Linked DNA regions of Homo sapiens: region 2 is linked to region 1. The links are contacts of gene promoters, found by promoter capture Hi-C in blood cells and fetal thymus (Javierre and others, 2016). All regions are on one chromosome and are shown on one strand. The core of a region is centred on a gene start or on the middle of the fragment in contact, and the rest is flanking DNA. Distances in the headings are between cores, read along the strand shown.

Region 1 (4,798 bases), core at 2,097-4,596:
CTGAGAGAAAGGGACATTGTACTATGGCCAATAGAAGGGAATCTAGCTTTTGGGGACCCAACCTTTGCTTGACCAAGAATAAACTGTTGAAACTTTTCCTTTCATTCAGGTGCCCCATTATTGGTAAACAAATTCAGATTTTTCATGGTTAGACTTCTCTACCGAAGTTGGAGAGCCCTCAGTTATTTATGTAAGTTTACTGATGAGGAGGATGCCAGAGGAAAATGAGGGAATGGAATCCCAGCTCCTAAGCTAAATATTCTTGGACTAGACCTTTTGCGCCACTACAGGATGTATCACTGCTTATACAGGAAAGTGAGAGAGCCCACCTTCACCTCTAGTTCTTCCTAAGACCTCATGTCAACTTTTCTTATCTCACTTGGAGAGGGCTCTTGTCATTTATTAAACCAAACCCTTAAAATGTACCTGTGCTATCAAAATCCTTAGAGAAATCGTATAGTCATCAAGTCAACTTTTACAAAGCAGAAAGGTTACTCTAAAAAAAGATGTTTAAATATCCATTCTAAGAAAAAAAGCAATTTTTAAATAACATGGTTTATTAATTTGTCAGTAAAATTTTAACAATGGAAAAACATACTTACAATTTCTTCTTCTAGAATACCTCTGAAAGCTTGGTCAAGGGTACATTTTTTTTCATTTTCACTATTAAAAACAAAAGACATCCTCATTTTTCAAACAGCTCAGGGTATGTATAAAGATTGAGGCAAGTATTTTTCATAGATATCAATGCCTTACCTGCCAGGTACCTGGCTGAAGGTACTTAACAATGGCTTGATGTTTTTGTTGTTCAAGGCCTCTCTGGTAGACTTCTAAAAAAAAATTAAAATGGCAAATAATTGTAAAGATTTTGCTTATTATTTGCTGAAAAATATATCGTTCATTGATAGTGTATCTTACTAACTAAAAAATGCTTATACCTGGGAAAAATTACCTATCAGTCATTCTCTCAGTAATCCTTATTCCAATGCTACTTCATGATACGGATCCTCATCACTTTAAATCTGGCAAGAGCTTCCTTGCTGGACTTTTTCATTCTAGGTGATATTTCTGTCTCTTTAAATATCACATTCATGAGTATTGTGCTTACAAAAAAAAAAAATCTCCATATGGCTCCTTATTTGCCCGTTTTAGTTTTGAAGCTTCATAGATCCCTCAAGGTCCTTGATAATGTTATCCCAATTTACCCAAACTTAATTCCCAATACTCCCTAACACATACTTTGCACTAAAGTCTAGCCATTTTTCATCACTTTATATCAAACTCATTCTACTGTATTCACACATTCATGTTGCTCTTCCTACCTGCTCATCCAAATTCTATCCATTCTCCCACACCCATGTCAGGTCTCGCCTCCTGGAGGTATCTTGTTCAGTCCCTGACACGTAGCACTCAATAAAACCATGCTGACAATCTGTAGATTGTTTTAAAGTAATCATAACTTAAAGACAAAAATATTGCAAAAGGCATTCATTCTATGAACACTCACATACACTTAGAAAGTCATCTTATTACCTCACAGGAATTAGATCTATCCTAAATGTGTCCATTCCTTGCTCTGCCACTAACAGGCTGAGTAATTTGGGGCCTGTTCCTTTATCTCTTTGTGCTTCATTTTCGTCACCAGTTAAATAAGAGGGTTTTTGTAGATTTTTACTACCAGCAGCAGCTACAGTGGCATCACCTAGGAAGCTGGTAGAAATGCAAAATCTCAGGCTCCCTTCCACACTTACTGAACAAGAATCTGCATTTCACAAGAAGCTTGAGAAACACTGAACTAGATGATCTCCAATTTCATGGTCCTTTTCAGGGCTAGTATGATTTTTTTTTTTTTTTTTGAGATGGAGTCTCCCTCTGTTGCCCAGGTGTTGTGCACTGGCATGATCTTGGCTCACTGCAACCTCCGCTGTCCGGGTTCAAGCGATTCTCCTGCCTCAGCCTCCCAAGTAGATGGGATTACAGCGCCCACCACCACGCCTGGCTAATTTTCGTATTTTTAGTAGAGACGGGGCTTTGCCATGTTGGCCAGGCTGGCCTTGAACTCTTGACCTCAGGTGATCCGCCCGCCTCGGCCTCCCGAAGTACTGCATTTACAGGCGTGAGCCACTGCGCCCGGCCGCCAATATGATCTTGGATAGTCCTAACAGTTACTCTTAGCAGGCTTTCAAAGCACCAGAGATTGCAGCAAAACGCACACAAAGAAAATGATTATGATGACATACACAAAATATAATCCATTTAAAAAAAACCTCACACTGTGTGTGTGTGTATATATATATTATACGTATACGTATATATATGTATATATATATATATATAACCCTGCAAACAAGAAAACTACTTACTACAAAGGATGAATTTTTCTTTCACACAATTTTCATCCTGGCATCCCTATAACTACCAAAACACAGCCGAATATCTGAGAAATGTTGGTGCAAATGCTAGAGACGAATAGAGTCAGGCAACTTAAAAGTGTTCTTCATACTTACGTTGCTGTGACGAGCAACATAAAAAGAACAGAGTGTCTAAAGTCAGAAAAACCACTGAAGTCACAACTTTTTGGGGGGTGTCAGCTTCTACCTCATGTACCAGGAATAACCAACTTAGCCTACTTCACAGTGTTACTCTAATAGTTAAATGAGAAAGTGATCTGTCAAGTGTTTCCCAAATGCTCAAAACCACCCTTCCACATTGAGCAAGAATAAAATAGCATCTGGTTACCCTTCCCAAGGTGATCTATCTGCCTTTTCCCGCTTAGGATCTCATCGATCGCTTAGGAGTTAGACACGGTGGGTTAAGGGGTGGTGAAGAGACGGCGGGAACAAGCACTTGGTAGCTCAGAAGGCTAGGGCGGGAGCCAGGTCTTTGGACTGAAACCACTCCCACCCTCCCCCTTCAGCAGCTCCCCTTCCCCTTCTCGAGACACCTGCCCCACTAAACGAGCTGAGAGGATGGACCCAACCAGCAGTAGTCTGCAGGTGGGCACTCCAAGCGGGGAGCCGAGGCGCCCAGCACGCAGTCCGGGGACCCGCTGGAGGGTGGGCGGAGGCGGACGGCCCAGCCCACAAAGAAGAGGCGGGTAGTGCGTCTTTCCCTACCCCTCAACCTCCGACGGGGCCCGGAGCGGACGCTGAGGCGGACACACCTCTGTCTCACTTTACCCCAGGGCAAAATTCGAGTAATTTCAGGGAGAAGAGGACAAAGCATAGCGCCGGGTCAGGCCTGCACCCTCCCCTCTACAGCTCACCGTAAACCGCGTCCGCGCTTCGGGCAAACTGAAGAGCGGCGGCGTCGGAGACATCTTCTCGGCTGCGCGTGCCCGCCACTGCGCTGCGGCGCCTGCCGATGACGTCAAGCCAGGAGCAACGAGACTGCGGTCTCTCTGAGCCCGGCTAGAGTGGCCTGTGAACACCGGTCGGGCGAGCTGGCAGTTGGGAGTTTCCCTAGCGACTCAGTTCGGGTGGGCGTTGGGCGCCTGAGTCAGCCAAACAGCCTACTCGGGGTTCTTGGGTAGCCTTTGGGGTGAGGGGACTTGGGCGGCCTTGGTCTGTAAGCTCTGCGTTCCCGGGCGTGGAAGAGACTGGCCGCGCACATGCGTTTCTGTGGTTTTCCTGGTTTGGGGAAAGCGGGTAAATGGTGGCTGGTTGCGGCTAACTGGGCCGCGCTAAAAGGTAACCCAAGGCAGGTGGATTACCTGGGGAAACAGCTGGAGCAGTGGTCCTGGGCCGCCAGTCCGCGGTCATCCCGGGAGCTTAAGATGCGGAGTGGTGATAGGCTCCGGATGTATGAGCCCTGTGGCTCAAGGGCGCTGTTCTCTCTGCTCCGAAATAGAAATAATACCTGTCTCACAGAGCTGTTGAAAAGCTCCACTGAAATAATGACCGCAAGTGTGAACTGTAAAGCAATGTAAGTAGTATTTATTATTAAAAGGTCTCTACTGAAAGAAAGAGACCTAGGAGGAATGCAGTGCCCGGCGCTGATTGGAAAACGGGTGGCGCTGCGTCCTGGGCCGAGGCTTCCCTAGCGAAAACCTTGTCTCCCTCCATTTCGTCCCTTGCCTGCCTTCCCAGGAGAGACGTGGCCGATAGAAGCCGAGTGGCAGTAACTCTAAGTTGGAGTTACACGGTGGAGAAGGAAGCACTGACTCAGACTCGGGTAACTTCCTCTTATTCCCTCACACGTGTATCTTGTTCCCTTCTTCGAAGTCTGTAAATTTAAAATCCTAAGCCCCCCAACAACTGAACAGACCCCCGTGAGGCCAAGGGGACACCAGCAAAATCTTAACAACTGAGTTCCCAGTCATAACGGGATGGGAGGTCAGACGGACCTGGTTATACCCTCTCCCTTTTGTGATTTAGAGGAGATAGCTGACTGGCCATAAAGTTAAAATAGAGGCCAGGCGCGGTGGCTTACGCCTGTAATCCCAGCACTTTGGGACGCCGAAGCAGGTGGGTCACCTGAGGTCAGGAGTGGATCACCTGAGGTATGGCAAACATGGTGAAACGCTGTCTCTACTAAAAATACAAAAATTAGCCGGGCGTGGTGGCACGCACCTGTAATCCCAGCTACTCAGGAGGCCGAGGCAGGAGAATGGTTTGAACCCGGCAGGCGGAGGTTGCAGTGAGCGGAGATCGTGCCATTGCACTCCAGCCTGGGCGACAAGAGTGAAACTCTGTTTCAAAAAAAAAAACGGAGATGATAGGACTGACGGAATTGACTCCATGGCAATAAGATACCAAAGTATAAACAGGACCTAAGCCCATGCCAAGCAAGGGTTAAA
Region 2 (5,382 bases), core at 2,613-5,112, 530 kb after region 1:
GCAATCTTATTAAGAATAGTAACAGATAACATTAGGCAGCTGCTATGTGCTAAATACTATCCTAAGTACTCTTGTGTATACTAACACATTTAATCCTTACAACCACCCTTTCAGTTAAGGACTATTTTTACTCACCCCTTAAAGATGAGGAAACTAAGGCACACAGAATAGGTAACTAGTCTAAGGTCAAAGACACTCTCAGGCAATTTAGCTCCAGAACAGTACTGTCCAATAGAAATATAATGTGAACCACAAATACAAACCACATATGCAATTTTAAATTTTCCAGTAGCCACATTTAAAAACATAAAACAGAAAGAGATTAATTTTAATATCTTATTTAACCTACTATATCAAAAATGTTATCAACATGCAATTAATATTTAATAGTTGAATTATTCTACATTCTTTTTACCATATTAAAATCTGGTGTGTACTGCACCAGGCGTGGTGGCTCACGTCTGTAATCCCAGCACTTTGGGAGGCTGAGGCAGGTGGATTACTTGAGGTCAGGAGTTTGAGAACAGCCTGACCAACATGGTGAAACCCCGCCTCTACTAAAAATACAAAAATCAGCTGGGGGTGTTGGCGTGCACCTGTGAGCCCAGCTACTCGAAATCGGGTGTGTATTTTACACTTACAGTACATCTCAATTTGGACTAGCCACATTTCAAGTGCTCATCTATTATACTGGAGAGTGTTCATAACCACTGTTCTATGCTTTTCTACTAAAAAAAATAGTGTTTTCTCAGTATGCAAGAATGGTTTAGTTTTAGGGTCTATTAATAATATTAATTCACCATATTAAAAAATAAGGAAGTTTAGCCAAGTGTGGTGGTGCATGCCTGTAATCCCAGCTACTCCAGAGGCTGAGGCAGGAGAATTGTTTCAACCCAGGAGGCAGAGGGTGCAGTGAGCTGAGATTGTGCCACTGTACTCCAGCCTGGATGACAGAGTGAGACTTCATCTCGAAAAACAAACAAACAAATAAATAAAGAAGTCATATTTACCATTTTGGATTTGGGTTAAAAAAATAAAATAAAAAATAAAGAAGTCAGGTGCAGCTGCACACATCTGTAGTCCCAGCTACTCTGGAGGCTGAGGCAGGAGGCCAGGAATTCAAGGCTGTAGTGTGCCATAGTCACACCTGTGAATAGCACTATACTCCAGCCTCAGAAACACACTGAGACTCCATCTCTCTCTCTCTCTCTCTCTCTCTCTCCCTCTGTATATGTGTGTGTGTGTGTGTGTGTATATACATATATACATATATATACATACATATATATACGCACACACATTCATATATATATGAAGGAGGAGCAGCAGGAGCAGCAGCAGCAGCAGCCATGTGCAGTGGCTCAAACCTGTAATCCCAGCACTTTGGAAGGCTGAGAAGGGAGGATTGCTTGAGGCCAGGAGTTCAAGATCAGCCTGGGCAACATAGAGAGACCTTGTCTTTATTTTTTAAAAAAATGTAAAAAAGAAAGAAAAAGAAGAAAAGTTATTTATCTCAATAAAAGCCAAGGGGGGGGAAAAAGCTTAAATCAACACCCACCCCTACTTTTTAATAACTCTCATGAACTAAAAATAGAGGAATCCTTCCATGATATTATATATCTATAAAGTTCAAGTCAACTTTGGCATCACAGCTTAATGGCAAACAATAGAAAGAGTCTTAAGGTTCATTATAATTATTATTATTATTGGTTTTTTTTTTTTTTTGAGACAGAGTCTCACTGTGTCACCAGGCTGGAGTGCAGTGGTGCGATCTGGGCTCACTGCAACCTCCACCTCCCGGGTTCAAGCGATACTCCTGCCTCAGCCTCCCAAGTAGGTGGGACTACAGGCGCATGCCACCATGCCCGGATGATTTTTTGTATTTTTAGTAGAGACAGGGTTTCACCATGTTGGCCAGGATGGTCTCAAACTCCAGACCTCGTGATCCACCCACCTCGGCCTCCCAAAGTGCTGGGATTACAGGCGTGAGCCACCGCGCCTGGCCATTATAATTATTACCTGAAATGAGGTTTCACTCTGTCACCCAGGCTACAGTGCAGTGGCATGATCATCGCTCACTACAGCTTCGAACTCCTGGTCTGAAGCAATCCTCCCATCTCAGCCTCCTGAGTAGCTAGGGCTACAGGCATCTGCCACTACACCCAACTAATTTTTTAATTTTTTGCAGAGATGGGGTCTCACTAAATTGCTCAGGCTGGTCTCAAACTCCTAGGCTCAAGTGATCTTCCCACCTCAGTCTCCCAAAGCACTGGGATTACAGGTGTGAGCCACTGTGTCTGACCTGCATGATCCCTTATACAAAAAAAGTAAGAGAATTAACTGAAAAGCTATCAGACACAGATTTCTATAGAGCAGCTACAAAAATATATTGAGAAATAAGTAGTTTTGTAATATACCAAAAATAGTTATAAAGTAGTACTCAACAAATGATAGGGATCTATCAAAAGTACATAGGAACTAGTTTGAAGAGGCTCTTGCTGACCAAACACAGAATCTGAGCATCAAGAAAAAAAAATGGTGACACTAACAGATTACAACTAGTTGACTAAGATAATCCATAAGTCACTCTGATAAATAAATAAGGACAGGAAGGTTCTCTCTTACAGAATCCCAACTACTAAACTTGGAGTAAGAGAGCTACACATTCAGCACACGTATCCCAGAACAACTCTTACTGCAATAATTAATTCAGCCAAGGAATCATCAATGGAAGCAAAAACTATTACCTTATCTGTAATTTACTAAAAAGAGAAATATGTTCATTTTGTGGTGATGAAACCTGACAGATATCACTTAACTAAGTAATCAAAGTTAATACTGCCAATAGTAGGATAGACTAACACAGCGTGCCTCCTGATGTCTTGTACTCTGAAGAACATAATAGCCTTTAAGTGGTACTCCTGCCTCAAATTCATAATCTAAATCAAATCATGAGGAAACATCAAACAAAAACTCATCGATGTACACTATACAAAACCAGTAGTCTAACTTTTAAAAATATCAATGTCATGAAAGATAAAGCCTGAAGAACTGTTCAGATTAAAGGAGACTAAAGAAACATGACAATTAAATGCAACATGTATTTCTAGATTGGATTTTGGATTTTTGTTATAAAGAATATTATTAGGACAATTGGAAAAATATATGAACTACTGTATTACTTTCCTTGCCACATTTCCTTTATTGTTCCCTCCTAGGGCTGCTGTAGAAAAAAAATGGCTTAAAATAACAAATTTATTATGTCATAGTTCTGGAGGCAGGATGTCCAAAATTCAAGTGTCAGCAGGGCTATGCTCCCCCTGACACTCTGGATACCATCCTTCCTTGCCTCCTCCTAGCTTCTGATGGTAGCTGGCAATCCTTCGTGCTCCTGGCTTACAGGTGCATCCCACCAATTTCTGCCTCTGTTGTCACAAGGCATTCTCTCTGGGTGTCTGTCTTCACATGTGGGTTTTTGGTTTTTGTTTTGTTTTGTTTTTTGAGACGGAGTCTCACTCTGTCGCCCAGGCTGGAGAGCAGTGGTGCAATCTCGGCTCACTGCAACCTTGCCTCCCGGGTTCAAGCAATTCTCCTGCCTCAGCCTCCCAAGTTGCTCGAACTACAGGCGCGTGCCACCATGCCTGGCTAATTTTTGTATTTTTAGTATAGACAAGGTTTCACCCATTAGCCAGGATGGTCTCAATCTACTGATCTCGTGATCCGCCTGCCTTGGCCTCCCAAAGGATGCTATTTCCAAATAAGGCCACATTCACAGGTACTGAGGGTTAGGACCCTTTTGGGGAACATAACTGAATCCGCAACTGCAAATTAGGTAACTGTATTATACTGATGTTGAACTTGTTGAATTCAGTAACTGTACTGCAGTTGTATAAGAAAACGTCCTTGTTTTAGGAAATACATACTGAAATATTTAAGGGTACTGAGACATGCCATTTGCAATTAACTTTCAAATGGTGGTGGTGGGGACACGTATACACACATACCCAAGGAGGGAAACATAAAGGAAATGTGACAAAATGTTAACAACTGGTAAATCTGGGTGGAGGGTATCCAGTTCTTTGTGCTACTCTTGCAACTTTTCTGAACTTTGAAGTTATTTCTAAATAAACTTGCAGCACTATTTACAACAGCAAAGACTTGGAACCAACCCATATCCCCATCAATGATAGACTGGATAAAGAAAATGTGGCACCTATACACCATGGAATACTATGCAGCCATAAAAAAGAAATGAGTTCATGTCCTTTGCAAGGACATGGATGAAGCTGGAAATCATCATCCTCAGCAAACTAACACAGGAACAGAAAACCAAACACCGTATGTTCTCACTTATAAGTGGGAGATGAACAATGAGAACACATGGACACAGGGAGGGGAACATCACACACTGGGGCCTGTTAGGGGGTGGGGGGAAGGGGAGGGAGAGCATTAGGAGAAATACCTAATGCATGCGGGGCTTAAGACTAGATGACGGGTTGATAGGTGAAGCAAAACACCATGGCACATGTGTACCCATGTAACAAACCTGCACGTTCAGCACATGTATCCCAGAACTTAAACACACACACACACACACACACACACACACACATAAGACCTATGAGTAAGTAAAACAAAAGTTCAGAGTCTATATAATAAAACTGGGATATAAAAGACAATCTCAAAAAATAAACACATCACTTATTTTTAGAAGGTACATTACAAAGATGCCCATCCTTCCTACATAAATCTAAGTAACATTAAATCAAAATCACAATGAAGTTCACATGAAAAAGTAAATGCATATGAATAGCTGAGAAAGTTTTGAAAAGGAAAACAGGAAATTTGTCCTTCTAGGAATCACAGCCTCATGGTTAAGGGTATAGGCTCTGGAGTCACAAAGTTAGGTTACAGTCCTAGCGTGTAATTTGAGTAAATTTAACCTCTTGAAGCCTATTTCTTTATCTGTAAAAATAAAGATATCAAGAATACTTAACTGTTGAAGGTTCTGTGAGAAATGAGTTAGCTAAATATGTTAAAGTATTTATACAGGGACTGTCACACAGTCAATTATCAATACACATTAGTTGCTGTTATCATGGTTATAATCAACAGCATCAAGCTATTTGGTATTGGCATAGAAACAAACAATTAGGCCGGGTGCAGTGGCTCACGCTGGTAATCTCAGCACTTTGGGAGACCGAGGCGGGCAGATCACAAGGTCAGGAGCTCAAGACCAGCCTGCCCAACATAGTGAAACCCGTCTCTACTAAAAATACAAAAATTAGCCGGGCGTGGTGGCAGGCATCTGTAGTCTCAGTTGCTGAGGCAGGAGAATCACTTGAACCCGGGAGGTGGAGGTTACAGTGAGCCAAGATGGCA

The links. The method cuts DNA at HindIII sites, captures the fragments that hold promoters and counts their contacts. A CHiCAGO score of 5 or more calls a contact.
Region 2: a contact is called between a fragment that was not itself captured here and the fragment with the promoter of THOC1 in region 1, in 1 of 17 cell types (total CD4 T cells). The highest score is 6.4, in total CD4 T cells.

Annotation. Positions count from the first base shown.
Region 1 is chr18:264,701-269,498 of GRCh38, forward strand. THOC1 (THO complex subunit 1) reads right to left here and starts at 3,347. Exons shown (of 21, transcript NM_005131.3): 1 at 3,266-3,347; 2 at 757-830; 3 at 603-663. The coding sequence starts at 3,319. RefSeq lists an enhancer at 3,216-3,685 and a silencer at 4,076-4,255. The HindIII fragment of the contact is 5,170 bases long and covers 1,778-4,798 here.
Region 2 is chr18:791,334-796,715 of GRCh38, forward strand. All of the region lies in intron 1 of YES1 (YES proto-oncogene 1, Src family tyrosine kinase), which reads right to left. Among named protein-coding and RNA genes, the nearest start is that of YES1, 18 kb to the right of the region's middle. The HindIII fragment of the contact is 4,646 bases long and covers 1,540-5,382 here.